Linked DNA regions of Homo sapiens: region 1 is linked to region 2. Evidence: promoter capture Hi-C in 16 types of primary human blood cells and fetal thymus (Javierre and others, 2016). All regions are on one chromosome and are shown on one strand. The core of a region is centred on a gene start or on the middle of the fragment in contact, and the rest is flanking DNA. Distances in the headings are between cores, read along the strand shown.

Region 1 (4,941 bases), core at 2,156-4,655, 1.5 Mb before region 2:
TGTCAGGCTCTACACCCCAGGTGGAAGTTCTTGCTCTCTGGGGGTTATCTGAGAATCTGGTGAAAACTTAGACCCTCTTCTGAAAAACATATCCCACACCACACCAAACTTAAAGAAAGTTCTGTGGGGGTGGGGAGATGCTGTGGCGGCAGATGCCGGGTTCAGATCTCCGGCTCTGCAGGCTTTTTCGGGAACGTTAACTTGAGTCAGCCACGACCTTAATTAAGATTTGAGAAAACAGAAGCCCGCCCAGGACCCTAGGAGATGCTTCTTCACTTGGGGGGGCTACAACAGAGCCCTCGCGAGCATCCTGCAGCTTCGGACCACCGGCGGCAAACAAAGCCCGAGCACCGCTCAGCCGGGGGGCTTCCCCGACCTCGGGGGAGGGCTCTGCGGAGCATGCGCGGCGGCCGTCAGGCCCCGCCCCCCCCGGGCGCCGGAGCCGAGGCGGCGGGAACCTCAAAGCCCCGGCGCAAACGGCCGCTCCCCGCAGAGCGCCGGCCGCCCCCTCCCCGCGGCGCCCGGGCGCAGCGGCGGCCACGGACGTGTGGGGCCCGCTGGCCGCCCCCTCTTCCAGGCCGGGCGAACTTACCGAGGTCCCCTTTCCCGGGGCGGGGGGGGAGGGGCGCAGAGGGAGCTGTGGGGGCGGGGCCATGACCCCCTCGTGCGGGCTTCGGCCGCCCCTCCCCCGCCGCGGGCCCGGGCGCGCGCCCCAACCGCCAACCGCCCGCGCGGTGCCCGGGGTCGGGTAGGCCGCGGGCCGCGCGCCCCGTACCGAGCCCTTTTGTTGCGCGGAGGCGGAGGCAATGATTCAGCCCGCGGCCTGCGCCGGCCCGGCCGCCGGGAGGGAGCGTGACGCGAGGCGGCCCCCGGCTGGAACGCGCGCCGTGCCGCGTCGCTGAGCCCGCCGGCCCCGGCCCTGCGCCCACCCGTCTACCCTGACCCTCACTCACGACGCGCTCCTTGGTGTGCTCGGGTTCGGTGATGACCACGGCCGCGCCGCCCGCCTTGCCTGCTGTCGCCGGCCGCGCCGCGCGCTTGCCCCCGCCGGGGGCCCCGTCGAGCTCCAGGCCGTCCTCGTCGCCGCTGCTGCCGCCGCCGCTGCTGCTACTGCAGCGCTCGGGCCGCTCGCGCTTCCTGCCCGCCGGGCCGCCGCGTTTCCTGGGCCCGGCGCGGGCAGTGCCGTTGCCCGAGCTCGGCTCCTCCCAGGCCGCCGCCGCCGCCTTCTTCCTGGGCATGGTCGCGGCTGGAGGGAGACACGGGGCAGCGGCGCACAATGGACGGGTTATAAACTGCGCGGGGGGAGGGGAGCGGAGACGAGCCACCCGGCCTCCACTTCCTCCTCTGCCCTCCCCAAAGTGGCGGCCGCAGGGTGGGCGGAGAGGGGGCGAGTTGGGAGAGGAAATCGCGCCCCTCCCTGGCCCCGGCGCGGCTCCTTCGGGGAATCCCGCAGGGCAGCCGGGAGCCCCAGAGGCAATCCCCTGGAGGGAGAATTGAGACCCCCGGCCTATCCGTAAGTTAGGTTTGCCCACAAAGCATCACAGTTGCAACCTCGCCCCCCAAAAGTAAAGGGAAAGTAAAACCAGCCTCCAGTCCCCTAGATTTTCATTAAAGAAGGCTTCGGGACACTTCCAGGATTCCCCCTTGGCACCTGGGTGGTAAGGGAGCCCCTGCTCCCCGGCTACCCCACCTGCTGCTTTTGTCTCCGCAGTCTCCCCCCAAACCCACTCATGGCATTTAATGCAACGCTCTCCCCCACCCCGCATCAGCCCTGGACCCCCGTTCGGCCCCAGCTCAGGGGTGCCGACCTCGGGCTCTAGTTAGCCGAATCCCTACGGCGGACTGCCCCCGGCGACGGGGGAAGAGCCCGAAGAAAGCTGGACCCCAGCCCCAAACACCTGCTCGCACAGACACGAAAAATAAAAACTTTAATGGTGCCCAACTCTCTCCCAGCCCCCTTGCCGGCCGTGCGGCCCGGCCGGTCTCCGATTCGACTGCAAAGTGTCCAGGGCCGCCGCCAGCTCCCCGGCGTCCCTGCGCTCTCCCCTGTCTGCTTTTTTTTTTTTTTTTAATTGATTTTGAACAATGGGATCTCTGTCTGTCTCCGATTAAACCACGTGGATCCGCCTTCCTTCCTCTTTTTATTCCTTCAATCACCCAGCCCCCCTCCCCCAGGTTTTTTTTTAACCTTTTCTCTTTAAAAAAAGGAAAAAAAAAAAAACTTTCCCAGACCCCACAAACTGATCACTGTCGATTTTCAGACCCTACCTGGTTGGAGTGATGAGAAACCGGAGAGAAAAAAGGAAGAGAAGCAACTAAAAGACGGATCGGAGGGCTTTTTTTTTTCCGGCCCAGACGAGGGCTCCAGCCCACTCACCAGATACACTTAAAATGTAAATACGAGCTTCCAGAACAAATGCTACAACACAAAACAGAAACACATGTGCGGCCGCGCGGCAAGCGAGCGCGCGGCGGGGCGGGAGGCGCGGGGCGCGGGGCGCGCGCGCCCCCTGCCGGCCGGCGGACCCGTTGCCGGCGCCCCCGCCCCGCCCGGCCTGGCCCTGCCCTGCCCACCCGAGCCTGCGCCGCGCGCCGCGCGCCTCGCCGCCCGCCTCGGCTCCGCTGCTCCTGCGCCTTTCGCGGGCCCGCGAGCGCGCTTTGGGCCTTCCACGCAGTGCGGCCTGCGCGTCAGGGACTTCTTTGCGGCTTAGGAGGATGTTGGATTGTTTTTCCTGGGCACGTCTAGACAGGTCACATGAGGACACTCGCTGGAAAATAGTTACTTCGCTCACGCAGCAGCCAACAAGGGACGTGCCCTAATTGAGTGATTGGAATGAAAGATGAATACAATTTGAATAATTTTTTCCTGTGCAGAGAGAAGCTGAGTTTTATTTGCCTGTGGATGTGTCCTCAGTATGTAACAAGGTGCTGTGACACGGAAGAATCACATAAAGGTTTGCTGTATTAGTGAATTAATTCATAATTAATTTGAGGGCCGTGGAGGCACTGGAAGCTGGCTTTGAGGGGAACTTTTTCATTTTTTGCCAAATATTTACTGAGCCCCCGGTACATGCAAGACCCACAGTGCCCGGGGCTGCAGAGCCAGTGAACAAGGTTTCCACCCCAGTGGAACGCACAGCCTAACGGAAAGACAGATCAGTAAACAAGTAATTACAACAGTGGTAAGCTTTACAAAGTGATGCCTGTGTAGGAACATTATGGCGAGGGGATTTATCCTAGTCCAGGGCCAGGGAAGGCATTCAGGTGGAAAGTTATGCTGAACAACTTAAAGGATGAATAAGACCCGATGAAAGGGGGCAGGAAAAGTATTCCAGGCCAGGTGGAGTGAACGGGACGCTCCACATTTCGAGATCTTGAGAGACACCTCCTGGGAGGGAAGCTGTCTGGTGGGGCTGGGGTGAGAAGAGCCAAGAGGCTGGGTTCTGAGGAGGTAGGCAGGGGTGCGAGGGCCTGCATAGACCCTAGTGAACCGCAGTGAGGCTTGATCTCGTTCGCGTGTCCTGGGACGGGTGAAAAAAGCCTTGCTTGCTTCCTACCGGTCTCCACCCTCCACCTCTCCACCCCACTTCCATTACGATCTCACCGTCACTTGCTCTCCTCTCAAAGCTTTTCTCCTGCTTCTTTTTTCCTGAGGCGTACCGCACAAGGAAGTTCCTTCTTCAGGCAACTTCTTGAAAACGCATAAAGTTCTAGGATTTTTGTGATTCATTCATTCATTGTTAGTGCAAGAAACAGGACTGGGAAGCATCAAGTGTCCTGTAAAGGAAGACAGAGAAACCAAGAGGCCCAAATCTAAGGTATTTGATCAAAGTCAAAAGTCTGTGTGTCAAGAGAGCTGAGAGTGCTTATGTAAAAGAACTTTGGAAATGAGAAATCAACTGGTACGTTTCAGAGATTTTCAGAAAAGTCAAGATGGAATAGAAGCACCCTTTGAAAGCCTATTCTTAATAGACCTGCATTTAAAAAGATTTTTTAGAGGTTAAACTTTGACGCTTTGATATAAAGCATAAGTAGAACCAACCAGAAAAGAATTTCGCCTAAATATGCCATCAAGTCCCCTTCAGGAAATGGCATGCTGATGCTTGTCAGCCGAGGCGGGTGGCTGGGTGTTTATCCTCTAAACACCCTGTGTGGCCAATTAGGAACACCACTGACAGTACCTTTAGATTTCAGTCTGCAAGTCTTTTCCTTTTTTCTCCTGCCCCTTTATAATGCTTTTTGCCAGCTTAAAAGACTCATGCCTCAGACACACTGATGCAATGAGACGCTAATATCATATTGCATCATCTGATCCTAGGTGTGGTGCTCCTGAAACTGGTTTTTCTTGAGGTTATGCTGCAGTAGAAAAGCACTTTGGGTATAACACCCTGGAACTGGCCCTACTTGTCAGAAGACAAAAGTAATTTTTGCAACTCCATGCCTCAATTCCACACCACTATTCTCCCAGGGAAAGCCTGCGTGACTCTCCCGGCTGGAATTGGGTGTGCAACAGACATTCATCAGTTAGGCGTGTCATGCTGCCACTTATGTAACAAATGTTACATAGTGAGGTGCACCTACAGGCAAGCTGAAAATGACACTTCCTCCTTCAAACTGTGCTTGGAATTTCACCTCGCTTCTAATTGAGCAAATTCTCCAGGGACAGGATGGTTTGGTGCAAAACCGGGAGAGGGGAAGGGAAAGAAGGTGGCTGAGATTTCTCTGACACTTTGAGGCACAGGTGTCTGGCACTGTGCTGAGCATTTTACACCCAGAATTTTGGAAATGTGGCTGCAAGTGCCAGCCTGCCGTCACTCTTTAACCTCATCTTCAGCAAAATCATATTGCAAGTTAGATTCAGCTACGCTTAAGTTCTTTTCCAGGGGTGAGGTGTGATTTTTTCTTTCTTTTTTTTTTTTTTTTTTTTATTTTTTTAGATAG
Region 2 (4,726 bases), core at 164-2,663:
CAGAGTGCAGGGAAGGCCTGCAAACGGGATCACACAGGGAGTATGGCAAGTGTGGCCCCAGTCTCAGCCTAGAAGAGGAACCCCTCTGTCCCATGTCCTCTTCCTGCGCCCTTTCCTATCCCCTCTTCACCCACAGAGGACACACAGCAGTGTTGCAACTCACTTGTGCTCAGAGCACCACCATGCCATCCCTTGGGGGAAGGGAGAGGGCCACTGATTAACTCAGAAAGGGCACAGCTCATCAGGAAAGACACTGCCACTAACAGCCCCAGGGGTCAAGCAAACAAACCTCAAATGGGAGGGGGGGCTGATCCACAGGTGGGCAGCCCCACCAGACTAGGAACCCCTCTGGGGCAGGGTCTGTGTCCCACCTACCTCTCCAAACCTAGCTCCGAGCTGGAGGGGCTCTGAGAATATTTGTCATTGAGTGGGCAAGGGTCCAGGCACCTGGCTCCACAATGTCAGGTTTGCAAATCGGGATTTGAAGGGCAGGTCCACCCCTGAACTGCTCCTGGGTTTCTTCATTATTTGGAATAATGACCTGCCTCACAGGAGTGAGAAGTTTAAATAGAGGTGATAATGATGATGATCGTGGCAATAATAATAACCGGGCGCTGCCTTTGTGCTGGGCACTGTTCAGTGCACTCCCCATGTATTAACTCATTTAATCCTCATAAGACACCTGCCAATTGCCCGGCCAGCATTTGGTTCATTATAAGCACTCTATAAATATGATTATTCCACCTACAAGAAGAAAGGAATCCTTTTTTCTGTCCAACATTTAACTTGAAAAAAAAAAAAAAAAACGGGCGGCGGGGTGTGTGGGGAGCGGAAAAGAGAGAGGTAGAAATCCTGGTAGAAGGAGAGGACTCGGGGAATCCGGGGCGGGATGGGGACACTGAACGTGAGACGAGGGTGGGGAAGTGAGATGTGTGGTGTGCTAAAAATAGAAGGGCCCCTCAGGGGAAGCCAGCAAATTGCGAAGATCCAGTATTAGGAGTGAGGTGAGTGACTACAGAGGCTACTTTCCGAGCGTGGGAACCGGCAGGGCCACCGAGGCACCCTACTCGGTCGCAGGATTCGGGAAGAGGGGTCCCCTCGCTAAAGGAAGGTGACTACCTGAGGGAGGAGGCTAAGGGATCTCAGTGGGAGAAAGGCCTGGGTGGGGGTCGGAGGGGAGCCCCTGAGGAACCCGGCGTTGACCGAGGCAGCTTGGGGGTCCGGCAGGGAGGGAGTGCGGCGCGGGGGACGCCCAGTGACTCTCAGGCTCCCGGGCCCCAGGCGCGCGCTCGGGCCGCCCCGGGCCCCGTGCTCACTCACCCGGCCCCGGTCCAGGGGCGGGACAGCAGGGCGCGGCGGAGCGCGGGCGCCGGCAGCAGCATCTCGGGTTAGAAGCGGGGCTGTTCGCTGGATCGTCCGCCCGGGCGCGGCGAGAATGCACAACCCCGTCCAGAGCGCACCACCTCGATCCTCGGGGGGAAACGGATCACCCCGGCTGTCCTCCGAGCTCGGGATCAGCCAAAGTCCCACTATATTTAGCTTCGGCTAATAAAAAATATTTCTAGTGCCATAACGGGGGCATTACACAACACAGGACAAGGGAACCCGAAAGCGAAGTCCTGAAATGCATGCGTTTTCCCCTCCTCTCTTTATGGTATGACCCGGGAGAGAGGGCGTGAACTCTGTCGACCAGTCAGAGTGACACACCAAAGCTTCTGAACCAATCAGCGGGGCGGTCCTGCGGCAGCCTTCCAAAGCGGAGCAGAGAGGGGCTGAATAGAGCCAATGAGATAACCGAAATGGGACACGTGCTGAAGCGGGGCAGAAGGACTCGCTGCGTCCGGCCCTCTGGCGTGCGCCCCGGGTTCGATGGGAGTCCGACTGACTTCTCTCGGGCTGCCGGTGGCTTGTACAAGGCTGGAAACCTGTCCGCTACCAGACTCCTCGACCCCGCAGGGCCACAGCGCGGCCAGCCCCCTGCTTCTTCCCGGGGGCTGCGGCCCCTGGAATGAGCCTGCCTTCCAGCTTCTTGGCCAGGACCCAGCCGCTCTCCACCTACCCTCCAGGCGCGGGGCCGGCCAGCTTCTTAGCTTCCTTGCAGATTACGATCAATGCAAGATAAAACCTGAGCTGGCCAACGCTTAGCTTTTCATTTAAAGCCTTTGGCCGCAAAACCAGTTGTTCCTGAGCCTTTTACCCCCAAGTAAAAATTTCAGCTTTCTTTGCAAAATGTTGTGTGCTTGGTAAACACTAGAATGCTATTTAAAACTTGGATTCTGAAGTCTTCTCTGATGACGAGGTCTCAGGGACCCAATCTATTCCTAAAGTAATGTTACGTTTCCTTACTCTCTGTTCTAATTTGTTTATATTTCTTCCAGCAGCATGAACCGCGCACCTGCTTAGGAGTCAGTTCCCATGCTGATTTTGGTTCCTCAAGCAGGGCACTAGGCAGACTACATATCCTTTCCGGGCCTCAGTTTCCTCATCTGTAAAACGGAAGTAATAGTACCCAACTCACAAAGCCCCCGTGATCTTAAGCCACTTATTTTTCTCCAGATTACACCATTTGAGGTACTTTGGGAGAATGTAAACATTTAAATGAAGAGTAGGAGAGGGAGATTACCTAAATGCCAAGTATTAGGAATGGCAAAAAGCAAATTGGAATTGGTGGCGGCTATTTGTCTTCACCTTTGGAGAAAACCCTAGACAGGTGGGCTCAGTTCACATTTGGGCAATGTTGCCCTGAACATGCCCATTGACAAGAAAAACTAGAACATTGGTTACTGTCAAATCCAGAGCCTGGGAAGGTGACCTCCTGTGGGCACGTTGGAGAGCCTGGAAAAATGGGGGCTTTGTGGTTAAAAGGACATCAGTTCCAAACCAGGCCAAGCCAGTTACTGAGCCTGTGATGTCTCATGTCCTCTCTTCCCCTTCAGTAAAATGTGTGTAATGATTCCTGCTTTGTCATCTTCCAAAGCTTTTATTGTGAGCTACAAATGTAACAGGTGATATGAAATCCCCTATTTTATGGCTAATTAACTAATGAGTTTGAGGGTTTCTGTGGCCTTCCGTCCTCCTACCCCTCCCCCAACACCAGATTCATCTTCTGTTTAAAAACAAAAACAAAAAAAAGCACCATCAGTTCTAAGACATTTCACTTTATTTAAAAGAAGCCAATATACAGGATATAAAGGGCATGATATTTACAACAGTACAGTAAACAGGTTGGTTTCCGGTAGGATCAGTAGTCTTTCCATGAGTATAAATCCCCCCCTTCCCTGTGATGCTAGACCCAGCTGGCAGACAACAGCAACGGTGGGGCAGGATCATGGGGTATAAAGTCTCCCTGGGTGGGGCTAAAAATCAGGTAGATGCAAAAACATCCACAAGGGGTCTTGCAGGGAAGGGCTTTGCCTCATTTCTTTGAGGGCTTGGGAGGGAAGGGTCTTGGTGAGGGATTTGCTCAGAACTAACACACAGCCCACCCTGAGCCTGGAAATCATCCATTCATAGAAAATTCCCTTCCAGAGAGAATCTGGCTTTACCTGCACCCACCCAGTCCCCTCCAGACTCCCCACTCCAGGAGAGAGCTCTTCTAGAGCCAGAGCTTGGTGTCTCAAGGGGGAAGACCCCTGTCCTAGGAAACCCCCAGCACCCTGATCCCTCCCCCCAGGGCCCTGGGGGGAACATAGCAAGGACTGCAGCCCAGGCTTGGCCTGGAGTAGACACAGCCGGGGCTGGGCTATGAGCATCTTAAGCCATTTCCACTTCTGCTCCAGCTGCCTGACCACCTGGGACCCGCAAAGGCCCAGGCTCCAAGGAAGTCGTGTGCTCCCACTGTCACCCATGCTCTGCTGCCTCCCAACCCTCTCCCAACGCAACTGGGTTGGAAATGGATCTCGGCAGACCAGAGTCAGAGTAACTAATTAATCAGAGCCTATCCCCAGAGCCCAGCTTGTTCCCTCCCTAATGCGCCTTGTCCCTTCCCCCACCCACCACATTTCTGAATTTCCTGCAGCCCACCCACCCCCTCAGATCCCCACCCCAAGACTTCCAAGGAGCTGAGGGGTCAGAGGAGAGGAGAATGGGGTGAAGTGGGACCTACACTCTGCTGAAGCTGCTCATGGGTGTGGATGACCAAAAGTGAGGACAGAAGACGAGGCCGGGGGACAGGAATGGGTTCCATTCAATCCAGCAACAACATGCACCATGTCTCGTCCACAGGAAAATGCTGGGCTACCACAACTGCCTACCCTAGATTAAAAAACCCTTCCTTTCATAAAAATAGATGAGAGTCTCTTGCTTTATAAATAGATTACATTTAGCTTAAGTTACATCTTATATTCTCCCCCACCCCACCCCCTCTCCTCCCACTCCAAGCTTAAGTGGTTTAATTCTCCCTAGGTCATCTGAGCTCTACCCACAGAGTTAGTCCACGATGGATTTGGCCCTTCAGGGACCTCAAGACATTTTCTCAAGACGAGAAAGAAAAATGTGTTGATTTGCCAATAATTTTTTTCTCTGTTCGGAGTCTCAGAGGAGTGCGAGTGTGTGTGTGTGTGTGTGTGTGTGTGTGTGTATTTCACAACCAACCAGGGAGCCAAAAGGATGCTAGTCTTCCTATCCCTCCCCAATCCTCTGTTTGTATAAAACCCCCAAAAACAGGAGACAGAGGGCAGCGCAGGAGAGCCCATCTGAGAAAATTCTAAAATACCAGTGTCAATAT

What was found. The method cuts DNA at HindIII sites, captures the fragments that hold promoters and counts their contacts. A CHiCAGO score of 5 or more calls a contact.
Region 1: a contact is called between a fragment that was not itself captured here and the fragment with the promoter of ALDH4A1 in region 2, in 3 of 17 cell types (fetal thymus, endothelial precursors and erythroblasts). The highest score is 6.3, in fetal thymus.

Annotation. Positions count from the first base shown.
Region 1 is chr1:17,437,277-17,442,217 of GRCh38, forward strand. It overlaps RCC2 (regulator of chromosome condensation 2), which reads right to left and starts at 2,401. Exons shown (of 13, transcript NM_018715.4): 1 at 2,269-2,401; 2 at 954-1,246. The coding sequence starts at 1,238. It overlaps LOC124903862 (a long non-coding RNA gene), which reads right to left and starts at 4,267. Exons shown (of 2, transcript XR_007065508.1): 1 at 4,182-4,267; 2 at 2,860-3,777. RefSeq lists silencers at 1,082-1,181, 2,501-2,640. The HindIII fragment of the contact is 440 bases long and covers 3,186-3,625 here.
Region 2 is chr1:18,901,142-18,905,867 of GRCh38, forward strand. ALDH4A1 (aldehyde dehydrogenase 4 family member A1) reads right to left here and starts at 1,414. Exons shown (of 15, transcript NM_003748.4): 1 at 1,321-1,414. The coding sequence starts at 1,382. It overlaps LOC124903866 (a long non-coding RNA gene), which reads left to right and starts at 972. Exons shown (of 2, transcript XR_007065519.1): 1 at 972-1,111; 2 at 1,669-2,230. IFFO2 (intermediate filament family orphan 2) reads right to left here. Exons shown (of 9, transcript NM_001136265.2): 9 at 3,139-4,726. RefSeq lists a silencer at 1,181-1,400 and enhancers at 1,481-1,710, 1,650-2,467. The HindIII fragment of the contact is 9,883 bases long and covers 1-1,710 here.